5 separate regions of the Homo sapiens genome follow, and all the other regions are linked to region 1. The links are contacts of gene promoters, found by promoter capture Hi-C in blood cells and fetal thymus (Javierre and others, 2016). All regions are on one chromosome and are shown on one strand. The core of a region is centred on a gene start or on the middle of the fragment in contact, and the rest is flanking DNA. Distances in the headings are between cores, read along the strand shown.

Region 1 (2,780 bases), core at 181-2,680:
TACAGTTGTGTGTGGACAAGATGCCAATTGATCTGACTCAAAAGCCATTGAAGTTCCATCAGTGCATCCTGCCACAAAGAAAACACTTGTGGGAAAAGCTACCAGTGGCTTAAATTATTATCTACTACTAGAAATTAAAATCATCCCGGAGACTTATGGGACAAATTAGCCCATGACAATAGTTCTCACACTTTTACGTCCAGGAACCATGGAGCTGTGGTATGGTTACAGGGGAGACAAAGACCTGCCTGTCAAATCTATTAGCTTCTTTCCTCATTTCTTTAAAGGGTGGGGGAAGGGAGACAGAGTAGGAGGAAGTGTGGATATTTGCCTTGCCTAGTTTGTAGCAGTTGTTGTAAGTATTAAACGTGAGCAATATTTGGGAGCACCCTACAGTAGTAGAATAACTATTTTTTAAATTCTTATTTGTTAATCACCAAAACACACCAAGTCAGGAATTTTCTACTGGTTAACCAAAACAGTCACGTTGCTTTTCCTTTTTCTAAAATAATCAAGTAGGCACTATAGAAGCAAGGCCTGGGGAAACCTTTTTTTTTTTTTTTTTTTTCTGAGACAGAGTCTCACTCTGTCACCCAGGCTGGAGTGCAGTGGTGCGATCTCGGCTCACTACAACCTCTGCCTCCCGGGTTCAAGCGATTCTCCTGCCTCAGCCTCCCGAGTAGCTGAGCCTACAGGTGCACGCCGCCACGCCCGGCTATTTTTTTGTAGTTTTAGTAGAGACAGGGTTTCACCATGTTGGCTGGTCTCGAACTCCTGACCTCATGTGATCCAACCGCCTCGGCTTTCCAAAATGCTAGCATTACAGGCTTGAGCCACCGCGCCCGGCCCCAGCCTGGGGAAATCTTAAGGACAGAACTGTGATGTGGACTCGATCACAGAAAGTCTTCTCCTCGACTCTCTTCCGAGTCCATTACTAGCTTCTCCCACTCTCTTTAGAAAACCATCCTTCAGCAAAGAGTTTCCCAGCCTGCCCATCCCCTCTAAAAACTCTAGAGGACCAGGACCCAGGGCGAAGGGCGGGTCTATACAGATCCTGAGCCAGGCTCTGTATTCGCAAATCCTGTTTGAAAATGTAAGCGGGACTGGGATCTCTGCCACATTTCCGCCCCAGTCCGCCCTCAGCCTCCCAGCCCTACTCTATCTTCTCTCCTTGGCTGAGTAAACAGCCGACCCGAGGTTGTACGTGACAAGAAAGCCTCTTTTATCTCTCCCGTCCCTTCCACAGCACCGTCCCCGCCCCACTCTCTTCCCTTCGGACCAGCCCTTCTGGGCGCGTCGGATTCTTATCTCCCGCCCCGCGCAGGGACGCCGCAGGCGGCGATAGGATCCGGACTACAGCTCCCAGCGCGCCCCAGTTCCCGCCCCCGCCTCCGGAGCCCGACGCTGCAGCGGCTCTTCTCGAAAGGTTCTTTCCGCCTGTGCAGCTCGCCGGCTCAATACTCCGGGGGTCTGGGTGGGGGGCTCAAACGCAGGGCTCTGGGACGCAGGCACTGCTCCAGGTGATAGTGCGGGAACATGGCCTTGCAGCTGGGCAGGCTGAGCTCGGGCCCCTGCTGGCTCGTGGCGCGGGGCGGCTGCGGAGGGCCCCGCGCCTGGTCCCAGTGCGGCGGCGGAGGGCTCCGAGCCTGGTCCCAGCGCAGCGCAGCCGGACGCGTCTGCCGGCCCCCTGGCCCGGCTGGCACGGAGCAGAGCCGCGGGCTGGGGCACGGCTCGACGTCGAGAGGCGGCCCCTGGGTGGGGACAGGGCTGGCCGCGGCGCTGGCGGGGTTGGTGGGGCTGGCCACCGCCGCCTTCGGGCATGTGCAGCGGGCGGAGATGTTGCCTAAGACCTCGGGGACGCGGGCCACTTCGCTGGGGAGGCCGGAGGAGGAGGAGGATGAGCTGGCCCACCGCTGCAGCAGCTTCATGGCCCCGCCTGTGACCGACCTGGGCGAGCTGCGAAGGAGGCCGGGCGACATGAAGACCAAGATGGAGCTGCTGATTCTGGAGACCCAGGCCCAGGTGTGCCAGGCTCTGGCACAGGTAGACGGGGGCGCCAACTTTTCTGTGGACCGGTGGGAGAGGAAGGAAGGTAAGGAGGCCGGCCCCTGGCGGGAGTTGGAGACAGGGAAAAAGGGTCAGGTTCCAGGTTGCAGACAGAAAATATAATAGTTCACAATATGGGATGGGGTAGGTAGGGGGTACCCACAGAGAGGCCGCTTGGTTAGAGGCCGCTGATAAAAAGATGGACACGAAAGGGTCACTAGCCCTCTGCTTGCAGGTATGGACCCGGATCAGCTGTCACTGTAGTACTGCATTTCAAAATCTTTGCAATTCCGTAGCAGCATTTTTTTGTAGAACTCTTAAGGGGTATTTGCAGCTAACAAGCTTAGATGTCCAAAGTTCGTTACTGAACATAAATTTCAATAGATTATGGAACACATTTTCTCTCCTTCTCTGGGTGAATTTGCCCTTTTTCCTCTTTAGGAGATGGAAAGAACTCATCTCCTGTGCGCTAAGTGTCGGCTAAACTCCTCCAGCCAGGATGTCATTGTGTCAGAATCTTCCCACTTCTTTTTACTGTTACACAAGATATATTTGATTCGTTTCTCAGTAGCACTACCAAATGCACGCATCAGATTTCCTGCTAGGAAAATCTTCTCTTCCAATATCAAAATACTTGAGCATCAAAACCCAGTTCTCGTAGAGGCGTACATTCATGACCATGTTGTTGCCCATACAGTGAAACCCCACATCTTGAGTGGAAACTTGAAAGATTC
Region 2 (2,780 bases), core at 121-2,620, 240 kb after region 1:
ACTATGTCTCCTTATGGCTTTCTATAATGGCTTCACTTTAGAGACAAAGAGAATTATTAAGTGGCTAAAATTTAAAAACAATAAAAATACTGAAGTATATTAGAAAATTTATATTCTGCATTTTGATACTATAATATAAATAAATTAGTAAATAAAATTAAGTCCTCATATTTTGAGTTCACTGAGAAACATTTTATAGTAGCTGACTGGTCTCCTGATGTTTTTTCTTTGTAGGGAAATTAAGAATAAAAACATTGGTTTTTAAATCATTAGGGAATAAATTATAAAAATCTAGGACACTCCCTACCAATAGGTTAGTGACAATAGTTATGCAAGTCTCAGGCAAAGTTAAAGTTTTCTATTCTAAAGGGACTTCCTCGGCATTGGCATCAGAGTGTTTCTGCAGAGACTCTAATCTGATGAGCATGGTTCCCCCAGCACCAGTAAATCAAACAGCATATAAAGATGGATGCATTTTGAGATTCGGAAGTTAAATCAAAATTGCTATCACTAAAAACAGCTTAAGGTTCATCTTGATTTTTCACATACTTGGAAACTCTCTCTTTCTCTTACACACAGACACACACACACACACACACACACACACACACACACACCCCTTGATTACCTGAAAACTATGATGGAGAGAAAAAGATTTACATTGATCAGTTGAGGTGGAAGTTAAACAGAGATTTGAAGAGAGATTTGTATTTGTGGACAAGAGGCAAAAATGTGGCAGGATCACCCAGGGTTGTATTCCTTTCTTTTGCTCCCCAAATTAATCTGGTCAAATCTTGTACATTCATCCTCTGAAGTAAGTCTGACATTATGTTCTTCAGTTTCACTTATTTGTCATAAGGTAACTTTAAAAAACTTAATTGAGGTATGATTTATGTGCAAAAAGCTATACACATATAATGTATACAACTTGATAAATTGGGACATAAGTATACACCCACAAAACTATTACCATAATCAATGCCATCATCATAAGATAACTTACTTGTTAATTGGTCTCCTATCCCCATCTTTTCTCTAGTGTGTAGATATGCTCTTATGCATTAGAAATATTTTTGGCTTCTCATTAGTCTTCAAACCAAGTTTTGTCCTTTATCTTGGTACTCCAAGGGCTCCATACAGAGGGCTTATATCACTTAAGGCTATTTTCTACCATTCACCTTTAAGAATCCATCTCCAGAGACACGCCTATAACTTATCTATTCCTTGATGTGTTAGAGTTTAACCTTGACCTCAGAATATTTACTCAGAATCTACTCTTCACATGAAATGCCCTCTTTGATTTATTCTTCTATCCAAATCTTACTCAATTTTTATGAGATCTGATTCTCATTATGAAGACATCCTCAACTTTCTGATCTGCAAGATAATGACTGTTTGTGTGATGCAAAGAGCTCTTAATTGTACTTCACTCCTGTGTTCATTCAGCTGTTCTTCATGTGCAAGTTTTGTTTATTCTTAGATTGATTTTCTTTTTGGTTTTCCACACTGCAAATCCCTCATAGTTCCAGAAAATGTAGGCCGTCGGTGAATGCTTATTGAATTGCTTGCAGAAATTTCAATTAAATTAACTTCAACATTATAGAGTGACTACAATAGAGAAGTCATGGAGTAAGACATTGCGCAAGGAGGGGTATGTGGTAGGAGTGAGTTAGGGCAGGAACCTGAATAGATAAATAAGAAATAATCCTGCCCTTAGAGAGCTCCCAATCTAGAGGATAAAATCACTTATACAATGATATAATATAGAAACTCAGGCTGAGTTAAGTATTACAAACTGAACTATAAGCAAGGTATATGAGAACACAAAGAAGGACTTAGAGAACTAAGAGAAGACATTATACAAAATGACATTTCTCATGATTCTTGAAGGATAAATTAAATTTCAATAGGCAAGAAGAATGTGTAGCAAAGAATTACAGGTTGAAGGAGCGGCATGATTAGAAGTAAAAGCATGGAAACTTGAAAGCACAAAGCATATTCAGTGAATGGAGAGTGAACCAGAGTAGCCAGAGTCTGGGCTCATGACAGGAAGGAGTTGGAGGTTCTCATCGCCACTCTCTCACTAAGATCACTACTCAACTCCTAATTACCACACCTAAAGCATTTTTTTAAATTATTATCTTAACTAATTAATTTTATGATTTGGCACCATTGACCACACTCTGAAGCATATTTGCTTCTCAGGCTTCTGTGATTTAATGCTTGTTTATTGCTACATCTCGGGCTGTTCTTTCTCCATGTTTTCTCTTAGATCCTCTTTTCTTCCTTTCCTCACACGCACAAATTCCTTAAAATAAAAGTACAACCTTGGGTACTTTTACAAAATTATGGCACTTTGTTTTAAATACTAGACACTAATTTAGAAAAGGCTTGCCTGATATTTAGCCAGTAAATCACCATACTCTCTGATGTCAATCAGTTGTTTTGTAAGAAAATTAAAAAGTGTAAGCAAATTAAAAATTTTTAAATTTGAAAAACAAGTTCAAATTTCTCTTAAAATATGTGGAATATTTTTATGAAGGTGGAAACATTGTGTTTCCAAATTTTTTAAAAAATAAGCAAACATGAGAGTTTTTAGTATGTTATCAGATAATTTTTGCCCAGAGTATTATATGAGGATATAGAAAAACATACTAAACATGTTTCAAGATTTTATCTGTGTTGCACAATTTCATATTGATAGTAGTTACAGTTCACTTAGTTAAATATCATACTGACATCAAAGGACAAAATAAAGGTTTTAATCATTTAAAAATATT
Region 3 (2,780 bases), core at 168-2,667, 240 kb before region 1:
AGCACCCCCACCCGGCCAGCCGCCCCATCCGGGAGGGAGGTGGGGGGGTCAGCCCCCCGCATGGCCAGCCGCCCCGTCCGGGAGGGAGGTGGGGGGGTCAGCCCTCCGCCCGGCCAGCCGCCCCGTCTGGGAGGTGAGGGGCGCCTCTGCCCGGCCGCCCCTACTGGGAAGTGAGGAGCCCCTCTGCCCGGCCAGCCGCCCCGTCCGGGAGGGAGGTGGGGGGGTCAGCCCCCCGCCCGGCCAGCCGCCCCGTCCGGGAGGGAGGTGGGGGGGTCAGCCCTCCGCCCGGCCAGCCGCCCCGTCTGGGAGGTGAGGGGCGCCTCTGCCCGGCCGCCCCTACTGGGAAGTGAGGAGCCCCTCTGCCCGGCCAGCTGCCCCATCCGGGAGGGAGGTGGGGGGGTCGGCCCCCCGCCCGGCCAGCCGCCCCGTCCGGGAGGGAGGTGGGGGGGTCAGCCCCCCGCCCGGCCAGCCGCCCCGTCCGGGAGGTGGGGGTGTCAGCCCCCCTGCCCGGCCAGCCACCCCGTCCGGGAGGTGAGGGGCGCCTCTGCCCGGCCGCCCCTACTGGGAAGTGAGGAGCCCCTCTGCCCGGCCAGCCGCCCCGTCCGGGAGGGAGGTGGGGGTGTCGGCCCCCCGCCCGGCCAGCCGCCCCGTCCGGGAGGGAGGTGGGGGGGTCGGCCCCCTGCCCGGCCAGCCACCCCGTCCGGGAGGGAGGTGGGGGTGTCGGCCCCCCGCCCGGCCAGCCGCCCCGTCCGGGAGGGAGGTGGGGGGGTCGGCCCCCTGCCCGGCCAGCCACCCCGTCTGGGAGGGAGGTGGGGGTGTCGGCCCCCCGCCCGGCCAGCCGCCCCGTCCGGGAGGGAGATGGGGGGGGTCAGCCCCCCCGCCCGGCCAGCCGCCCCGTCCGGGAGGTGAGGGGCGCCTCTGCCCGGCCGCCCCTACTGGGAAGTGAGGAGCCCCTCTGCCCGGCCAGCCGCCCCGTCCGGGAGGGAGGTGGGGGGGTCAGCCCCCCGCCCGGCCAGCCGCCCCCTCCGGGAGGGAGGTGGGGGTGTCGGCCCCCCGCCCGGCCAGCCGCCCCGTCCGGGAGGGAGGTGGGGGGGTCGGCCCCCTGCCCGGCCAGCCACCCCGTCCGGGAGGGAGGTGGGGGTGTCGGCCCCCCGCCCGGCCAGCCACCCCGTCCGGGAGGGAGATGGGGGGGTCAGCCCCCCCGCCCGGCCAGCCGCCCCGTCCGGGAGGTGATGGGCGCCTCTGCCCGGCCGCCCCTACTGGGAAGTGAGGAGCCCCTCTGCCCGGCCAGCCGCCCCGTCTGGGAGGTGTGCCCAACAGCTCATTGAGAACGGGCCAGGATGACAATGGCGGCTTTGTGGAATAGAAAGGCGGGAAAGGTGGGGAAAAGATTGAGAAATCGGATGGTTGCGGTGTCTGTGTAGAAAGAAGTAGACATGAGAGACTTTTCATTTTGTTCTGGATCTCAAATTTCATAACGCATGGGCCCTTTTCACCAAAAAATAATTTCCATGGGTTCCAATTGAGTAGCATTAACTGTGGAACTAACGTTCCATGTTATACAAATTTCATCCACAGACTTCCACCTCTGGCAATTACTAACTGGTACCAGATCTACCCTCCTCTGCCACTGTAAACAATCAGAAAACTGAGCAAAATATTGGAGGCAACCATTTTCAGGCAAGGGACAACAGGCAGTGCAGAACCAGAGCACCTGCCGGCAGGGAAGCAGCTGGTAAATATGTGGATACATACAAAACAGCAGCTTTTCTTTTGTCCTCTTAATTTCCTTAAGATGCAAGTGGCTATTTAAAATAATAATATTGCAAGGTGAGGTTTACATACACACACACATACACACACACACAGGAGGACTGATTTATTACTATAAAATGGTGAAATCTATACATAAGTTCAAAAGAATTTAGATTCTCCTCAATGTGAATAAACAAAAATTTAAAAATCTTAAAAAAAAAAAAAAAGAAAGAAAGGAAGGAAGAAAGAAAGAAAGAAAGAAAAATTCATCTCCTCCCCTCATATAAGCACCAAATAATTATAGTAGCATATGGAGTGGCCAGGCGTGGTGGCTCACGCTATAATCCCAGCAGTTTGGGAGGCCAAGGTAGGTGAATCACCTGAGGTCAGGAGCTTGAGACCAGCCTGGCCAACATGGTGAAACCCTGTCTCTACTAAAAATACAAAAATTAGCCAGGCATGGTGGCACGTGCCTGTAGTCCCAGCTACTCGGGAGGCTAAGACGAGAGAATCGCTTGAATCCGGGAGGCAGAAGTTGCAGTGAGCCGAGATTGCACCATTGCACTCAAGGCTGGGCAACAAAAAAGAAACTCTGTCTCAAAAAAAAAAAAAGAAGAAAAAAAAATAGCATACGGAGTGAGAGGATGGATAAGTGAACCTGGCACATATTTGGTGCTCAATAGATGTTTACTGAGTGAAGAATAATTAAATGGCAAGAAAATAGTTATCTTAGAAGAACAAATGAGAAGGGAATCATTTCTGGCTGGGGACACCCAGGAGTTGACATTTGAATTTGACCTTGAACAGTGGGTAGGATGCTTTTGGTGATGAGAAACCCATTCTAGGTAAGGGAGGAATGCCAGGAAAGAGTAGGGACTTAAGAATGTGCGAGTATGCCGGGCGCGGTGGCTCCTGCCTGTAATCCCAGCACTTTGGGAAGTTGAGGCGGACAGATCATCTGAGTTCAGGAGTTCGAGACCAGCCTGACCAACATGGTGAAACCCCATCTCTCCTAAAAATACAAA
Region 4 (2,780 bases), core at 153-2,652, 170 kb before region 1:
ATAATTATGTACTGCCACCCGCTTGGGATTTAAAGGTCATCAAAACTTTTTTCCTAGCCAAAGGACTGACAATGAGAAGGTTAAAATCCCTATTACAGAGGCTTTCTCTTCAGTAAAACTATCTGTGCCTCTTCAAAGTTTTATATGTGGTATTTCAAGTCAAAGCTATTTCAGAAGATACATATATCATCGTTCACCAAATATATTTAAACAAAGGAAACCATATGTAATATCTGTATTTTATCAATAATCTCTTAAGCAAGCATTTTAGGTTCCAAAAGTACCACTGAGCCCAGTAATTACGCCATTAACTCAAGGAGATGATCTATAGCATAAAGAAAGAATGTTATAACCCAAAGATGGTTAACACCATGGCTTCCCTGGGAAGTCAATAGAAAGTAGGTGTTGCTTGTCAACTTTTAAATTGTTCGAGATACAATCTATAGGATACTGGAATGGTAAAACCCCAATTTACAATGGAAAGCAAGAAAATATTCAAAATGGTACAAGTTTTTTTCATAGGACCCTCTACTATAATTTGTGGATTTGTGTGAAAGACTAGGTTGAGAGTTATTTTTAAATAACAAAATGAAACTTACCAATAGACATTCGTTCCCCATAATATGCAATGCAGTACATAATAGAGGAAGACAGCACTCAGGAATATGGCCACAAGATACCCTCTCATGGCTGGCTCACCTGAAACACAAGGAATGAAGTCCAAAGCAAAGGCCAGGTTGTTATACAAATGGATTTTCACAATGGCTCAAATATAAGCATTATTGGAAAAAATATACAAAAGGAACTATAGAAAAAAATGATGTGGGCATGTAATTTTGGAAATACTCACTAAACGTGCAGAAAGATAATGTTTTTTCTGTCTCTCCTTTTATCAATAAGCACAACATAATGTATGTTTAGGCCAATAAACAGTTCCACGGTCTCAAAGGTAGGGGCCTCCCCCTACTACTTTCTCATGGTAGGTAAGAAAGAAATAATTCCTTCAGAATAAAATTTTACACATCTATTCCATATCCAAAACTTTTTTCACAAACATTAAAACCTATCTATTTTCTCTCTCAGTAGAAAGTGAATAGATGCCTTAAACTGTGAATATTTCATTTCTTCAGTGCTTGAAATGATGTTAAAATGTTATACATTATAATTTTTACAAGTCATTTTCTAATTTTTAACTGAGGAAAAAAGCTACTGAAAAAACATTTCCCTCATCCTCAATTTTTATATACTTTTAGATCCACCTATTTGATTTTTCCACATCACAGTTCAGGTATATTCAGCTACTTGCTTGTTTTGTATTAAATTGACAATATTATTCATTACACATTTGCAGACAGACAAAAACCTTGACACAATCCTCTCTAAAATGTAAATGCAAAAAAAGCCTTTATAGAATATATTTTAAAAACCTATAAAACATGTTTGGTTTTCTCTTTTGCTTCAAAGGAAAAAAGGAAAAGTTTCCATTGTCTTATGTAATTAAATGTAAAAGACAAATTTAACATATGGTTCCATAATAGACCTATTTCAACGCCTGTGACTTTAAACAGGTACACTGCTTCTCTGTCTCCCTTATCAAGTTTCTAGTTCGTCTAAACAACTGCATGTGCCACTCCTTTCACTCCTATCCATGCCTATTAACCTCAATCATGGCGATGCAGTATAGAACCTGGGAGTCTGGTTGAATAAATTTCCAAATAATATGGCATTGCCTTCTTTTTAATGGTAAATATGTTCAAATGGAAATCTTAAAATAAACCACTCCCTTTGCCTTCATAAGTAGAATATACTAAACATAATTTAAACTTTTCTTGATAATATGGGGTCAGCTCAACAAATATAATTGTTCTGGGCTTTCTTACAGTTGAAACCCTCTGCAGCTAATGGGTGTGTGGGGCTATTTGCTAAGCAGTCCTAAACTGGCATGATTATCTGGTTGAGTTGCTTTTCACTCCTCCCTTGCTGTCAGCTGTTGGTTCTTGCTGCTATTAATGCAGTCACCACCCCCACATGCCACTATTCTAAATTAGTTAGAAATGAAAACTATGTCAGGAGAAAGCAAATAAATAAGCAAGTTAATGAGCAAACTTTAGTTCACACATACTTCTAATTAGGTATACATAATCCCTGTGAAGAGTCAACACTGGTTGGAAATCAGAAGACAAGATTCACAGCCTAACTCTACATATGGTGTGGGGACCCTAAGGTAAATCAGTCTACCTCTTCTGACCTGAGGGTCCTCATGTGTTTACAAGTGAGAACACACCATCTACCTCTTTGGGTTATTAGATGGTCCTGGAAGGCAGTTTACCATGGGCCAAAATAGTGAGGAACATCTTATTAAATGCTCAAATCAAACATTTAAGGCTCCACTAAGAATAACTTCATTTGGCTGGGCGCAGTGGCTCATGCCTGTAATCCCAGCACTTTGGGAGGCTGAGGCAGGTGGATCACGAGGTCAGGAGTTCAATACCAACCTGGCCAAGATGGTGAAACACCGTCTCTACTAAAAATGCAAAAAAATTAGCCGGGCGTGATGGCAGGCACCTGCAATCCCACCCATTCAGGAGGCTAAGGCAGAGAATTGCTTGAACCCAAGAGGCAGAGGTTGCAGTGAGCCGAGATCACGCCACTGCACTCCAGCCTGGGCGACAGAGTGAGACTCCCTTTCCCAAAAAAAAAAAAAAAAAAAAAAAAAAAAAAAAGAATGACATTTATGCAAAGATCCAACAAGGATAAAACTTACCAGTATCAGCAAAATT
Region 5 (2,780 bases), core at 141-2,640, 160 kb before region 1:
GTTAGACATATGCATATGTAACACCTTATAGTAAATCCTCACTTATTGTTCATAAGTTCTTGGAAACTATGACTTTCAGCAAAGTAAGGTACATCAAAACCAATTTTTTTCATCAATAATAAAATGACAATGAACAAAAATGTTTTGCTTAAGGTTGTAGTTTCCAAAAACCTATTAATGACATTAAATGAGAATGTACTGTACTGAAAGGCATTAAAGAAAAACAAAATCAGCTGATGTGCTGAATTGTAGATTACAGAGAATTTTTTTAAGTACATAAATGTTTCAATTTTCAAAGAAACTGAAAGTGCTTATTTTCATATATCTCTATATACATTTCACTTTTGAAGTGTTAAGTAGCAAACCCATTTAGAAATCAAGAGAAAAGCAAAGGAGTGCTGTTTAATGCCTACTATTAGAGAAGTCTTCACCATGAGACAGAATTTTGAACCTAAAGAAATTATGGATCATGATATATTTGTGCCTCAGGATTATTCTCTCCTTAAATGTATAGAAAGTATAGTTCCTGAGTTTCCATCATCTTCTATCCACTATTACTTATTACTAAAGAATCCATCACAATTTTAAAGTTGGAAGGGTCCTTTAAGATTATTCAGTCTGGGACGAGCGCAGTGGCTCACACCTGTAATCCCAACTACTCGGGAGGCTGAGGCAGGGAGAATTCCTTGAACCTGGGAGGCAGAGGCTCCAGTGAGCCAAGATCATGTCACTGAATTTCAGCCTGGGCAACAGAGCGAGACTCCATCTCAAAAAAAAAAAAAAAGATTATTTAGTCTGGATAAGTTGGTAAAGAAACCTCAAGCACTGTCATACTGGGGGAAACAGGGATTTAGTTACACCTGGGGAAGCTTAAATCAAGGAAGGAAACAAGACAGCCTAGTCACAGGCTTGAAGGTCCTTCATGAAGAGGATTTTACTTGGTTCTGATGGCTACCAAGCAGTTATGCCAAGGCCAGTGAATGCAAAATTCAAGGAGTTAAGTTTGAGCTCAGTACTAGGAAGACCTTGCTAATATTTGGACTGCCTAATACAGGATGCATTCTTGGAAAGTGGGTCACACATTACTAGTATGTTCTAAAGTCCATTTGGCAGGAGTGGGCAGAGCAGTGCTTAACAAACTTTAATAGCCATTGGCATCACCTGAGCATCCTGTTAAGTTGCTCATTCTGATTCAGCATGTCTAGGGCAGGGCCTGGTTATCTGCATTTCCAGCAAGCTCCCAAATCATGCAAAAAAAAAAAAAAGAATGCCAGTGCTGCTAGTCTGAAGCCCCTGCTTTGAGTGGCAAGAATTTAGGGTGAACAGGAACATTCGAATGTTACTTAAACCAGGGTTTCCCAAAGTATGGTCACTGTACAGAGTCTTCTAACTACATTATTTCAAAAGTCTTCAGCCCTGATTTTGAGGCAGATGATTAATAAATAGGTTAAGTGGTTATTAGCAGAGTTTTGTGAGTCCACACATTCAAATGTCCAAAAACATGTTATATCCTATACCCCCAAGGTCATACCCCAACCAGTAATTAATTTTGCACAATTCTAAAGAAGAGATGTTTCACTTCCATAGAAGAATGGTGACCTTATTCTGAGCTTGGAAAGTACTTAAAACTAAGTAAATGTGCTCTGATGAAGAAAAGAATGAATGAATTTGTGATTTCAGTATACTACCATTAATGAAAATGCAGAATGCAAGAAAACATGGCTCTAAAGTAATTTTTCCAGGGATTTCTGTTAAAAAAAAATCATGTGTCTCTGAACGGGGCAGGGAAAGTCCCCTAAGGCCACAATTTGCAGTCTTCTTTTTCATTGTAGGGCTTTACATTATATTCCTAGCCCTGGAATTTCACCTCCCAACCACCTATACAAACTATAAGAATTTCTTAAAAGCTTTGAAGGTACTCGTTTATTGCTTGGTCATATTTTGCTCTGCTCCTCAACTGATCCAATAGATTTGGGCTTTCAATCAGTTCAAAACTCTCTGATGTCTTTCTTGGAGCAGTATGCTGATATCTGAATACACAGCCCTTCCTTACACTTGAAAGCATTCTTATGTTTTTCTCCCAGGGTAAATAAAACTACAACTAAGGGGGAACAAGTTTCTGTCTTTCCTGATTCTAAAAGTCCCCCTTCCAAAGAGTTTACTGTTTTAGTTTGCTTAAAAGTTATAAATAACATTTCATCTGATATTTGAAAGTTCTGTTTTCAAATACTTATTATGCCAATTTATTCTGAATAAGCCTGGATTATTCTGGCCCTTAGGAAATATCCTCTCCAATCTGATTTTTTTCCCTTACCTTTTCTGCTATTTTTAAAAGAAAGAAATGAGTTAGCTTAAGGGTGAACAATCAGATGAGCATATACCAAACCTTAAAATTCCCGTGTTGAAACTGTCCTGCTCTCCACAGCAAATGAAAATGTGACAACACATATACCACTATCAATCAGATGATTTCCTAGAGCTAAGTTACAAATATGAGGTGAATCTTAATTTAGGGCAACTTATAATTTATTATTACAAATAAATCAATACATATGATAGATTTTTTTATGAAATGAAACAATCCTAGATTTATTTCCTAAAACCAGTGGATTGATCCTTAAGGCAAAGTGAATTTCAAAATCATTTCTTGCTAAATTTAACTCTGAATGTTTTCACTTTCTAGGGTAACTTTGTTGATTTCTTCAATAAAGAATTTCTCACTGACTACTCTGTGCTGGACACTGTTTTAGGCTTTGGAGATACAGCAGCGAAGAAGAAAA

The links. The method cuts DNA at HindIII sites, captures the fragments that hold promoters and counts their contacts. A CHiCAGO score of 5 or more calls a contact.
Region 2: a contact is called between a fragment that was not itself captured here and the fragment with the promoter of CPOX in region 1, in 3 of 17 cell types (naive CD8 T cells, total CD8 T cells and activated CD4 T cells). The highest score is 5.6, in naive CD8 T cells.
Region 3: a contact is called between a fragment that was not itself captured here and the fragment with the promoter of CPOX in region 1, in 3 of 17 cell types (neutrophils, fetal thymus and monocytes). The highest score is 12.2, in neutrophils.
Region 4: a fragment that was not itself captured here is called in contact with the fragment with the promoter of CPOX in region 1 in 1 of 17 cell types (megakaryocytes); the score reaches 5.3 in megakaryocytes.
Region 5: a fragment that was not itself captured here is called in contact with the fragment with the promoter of CPOX in region 1 in 1 of 17 cell types (fetal thymus); the score reaches 6.3 in fetal thymus.

What each region holds. Positions count from the first base shown.
Region 1 is chr3:98,592,261-98,595,040 of GRCh38, reverse strand. CPOX (coproporphyrinogen oxidase) reads left to right here and starts at 1,430. Exons shown (of 7, transcript NM_000097.7): 1 at 1,430-2,092. The coding sequence starts at 1,537. RefSeq lists an enhancer at 892-941 and a silencer at 1,442-1,891. The HindIII fragment of the contact is 5,536 bases long and covers 1-2,390 here.
Region 2 is chr3:98,349,150-98,351,929 of GRCh38, reverse strand. No RefSeq gene overlaps it. Among named protein-coding and RNA genes, the nearest start is that of OR5K4, 3.3 kb to the left of the region's middle. The HindIII fragment of the contact is 6,090 bases long and covers 1-2,780 here.
Region 3 is chr3:98,835,141-98,837,920 of GRCh38, reverse strand. All of the region lies in intron 3 of DCBLD2 (discoidin, CUB and LCCL domain containing 2), which reads left to right. Among named protein-coding and RNA genes, the nearest start is that of DCBLD2, 65 kb to the left of the region's middle. The HindIII fragment of the contact is 7,617 bases long and covers 1-2,780 here.
Region 4 is chr3:98,766,349-98,769,128 of GRCh38, reverse strand. ST3GAL6 (ST3 beta-galactoside alpha-2,3-sialyltransferase 6) reads right to left here. Exons shown (of 10, transcript NM_001323368.2): 2 at 600-699. The coding sequence starts at 688. Among named protein-coding and RNA genes, the nearest start is that of ST3GAL6, 4.4 kb to the right of the region's middle. The HindIII fragment of the contact is 3,601 bases long and covers 1-2,780 here.
Region 5 is chr3:98,749,049-98,751,828 of GRCh38, reverse strand. It overlaps a transcript of ST3GAL6 not described here. Among named protein-coding and RNA genes, the nearest start is that of ST3GAL6, 13 kb to the left of the region's middle. The HindIII fragment of the contact is 1,038 bases long and covers 872-1,909 here.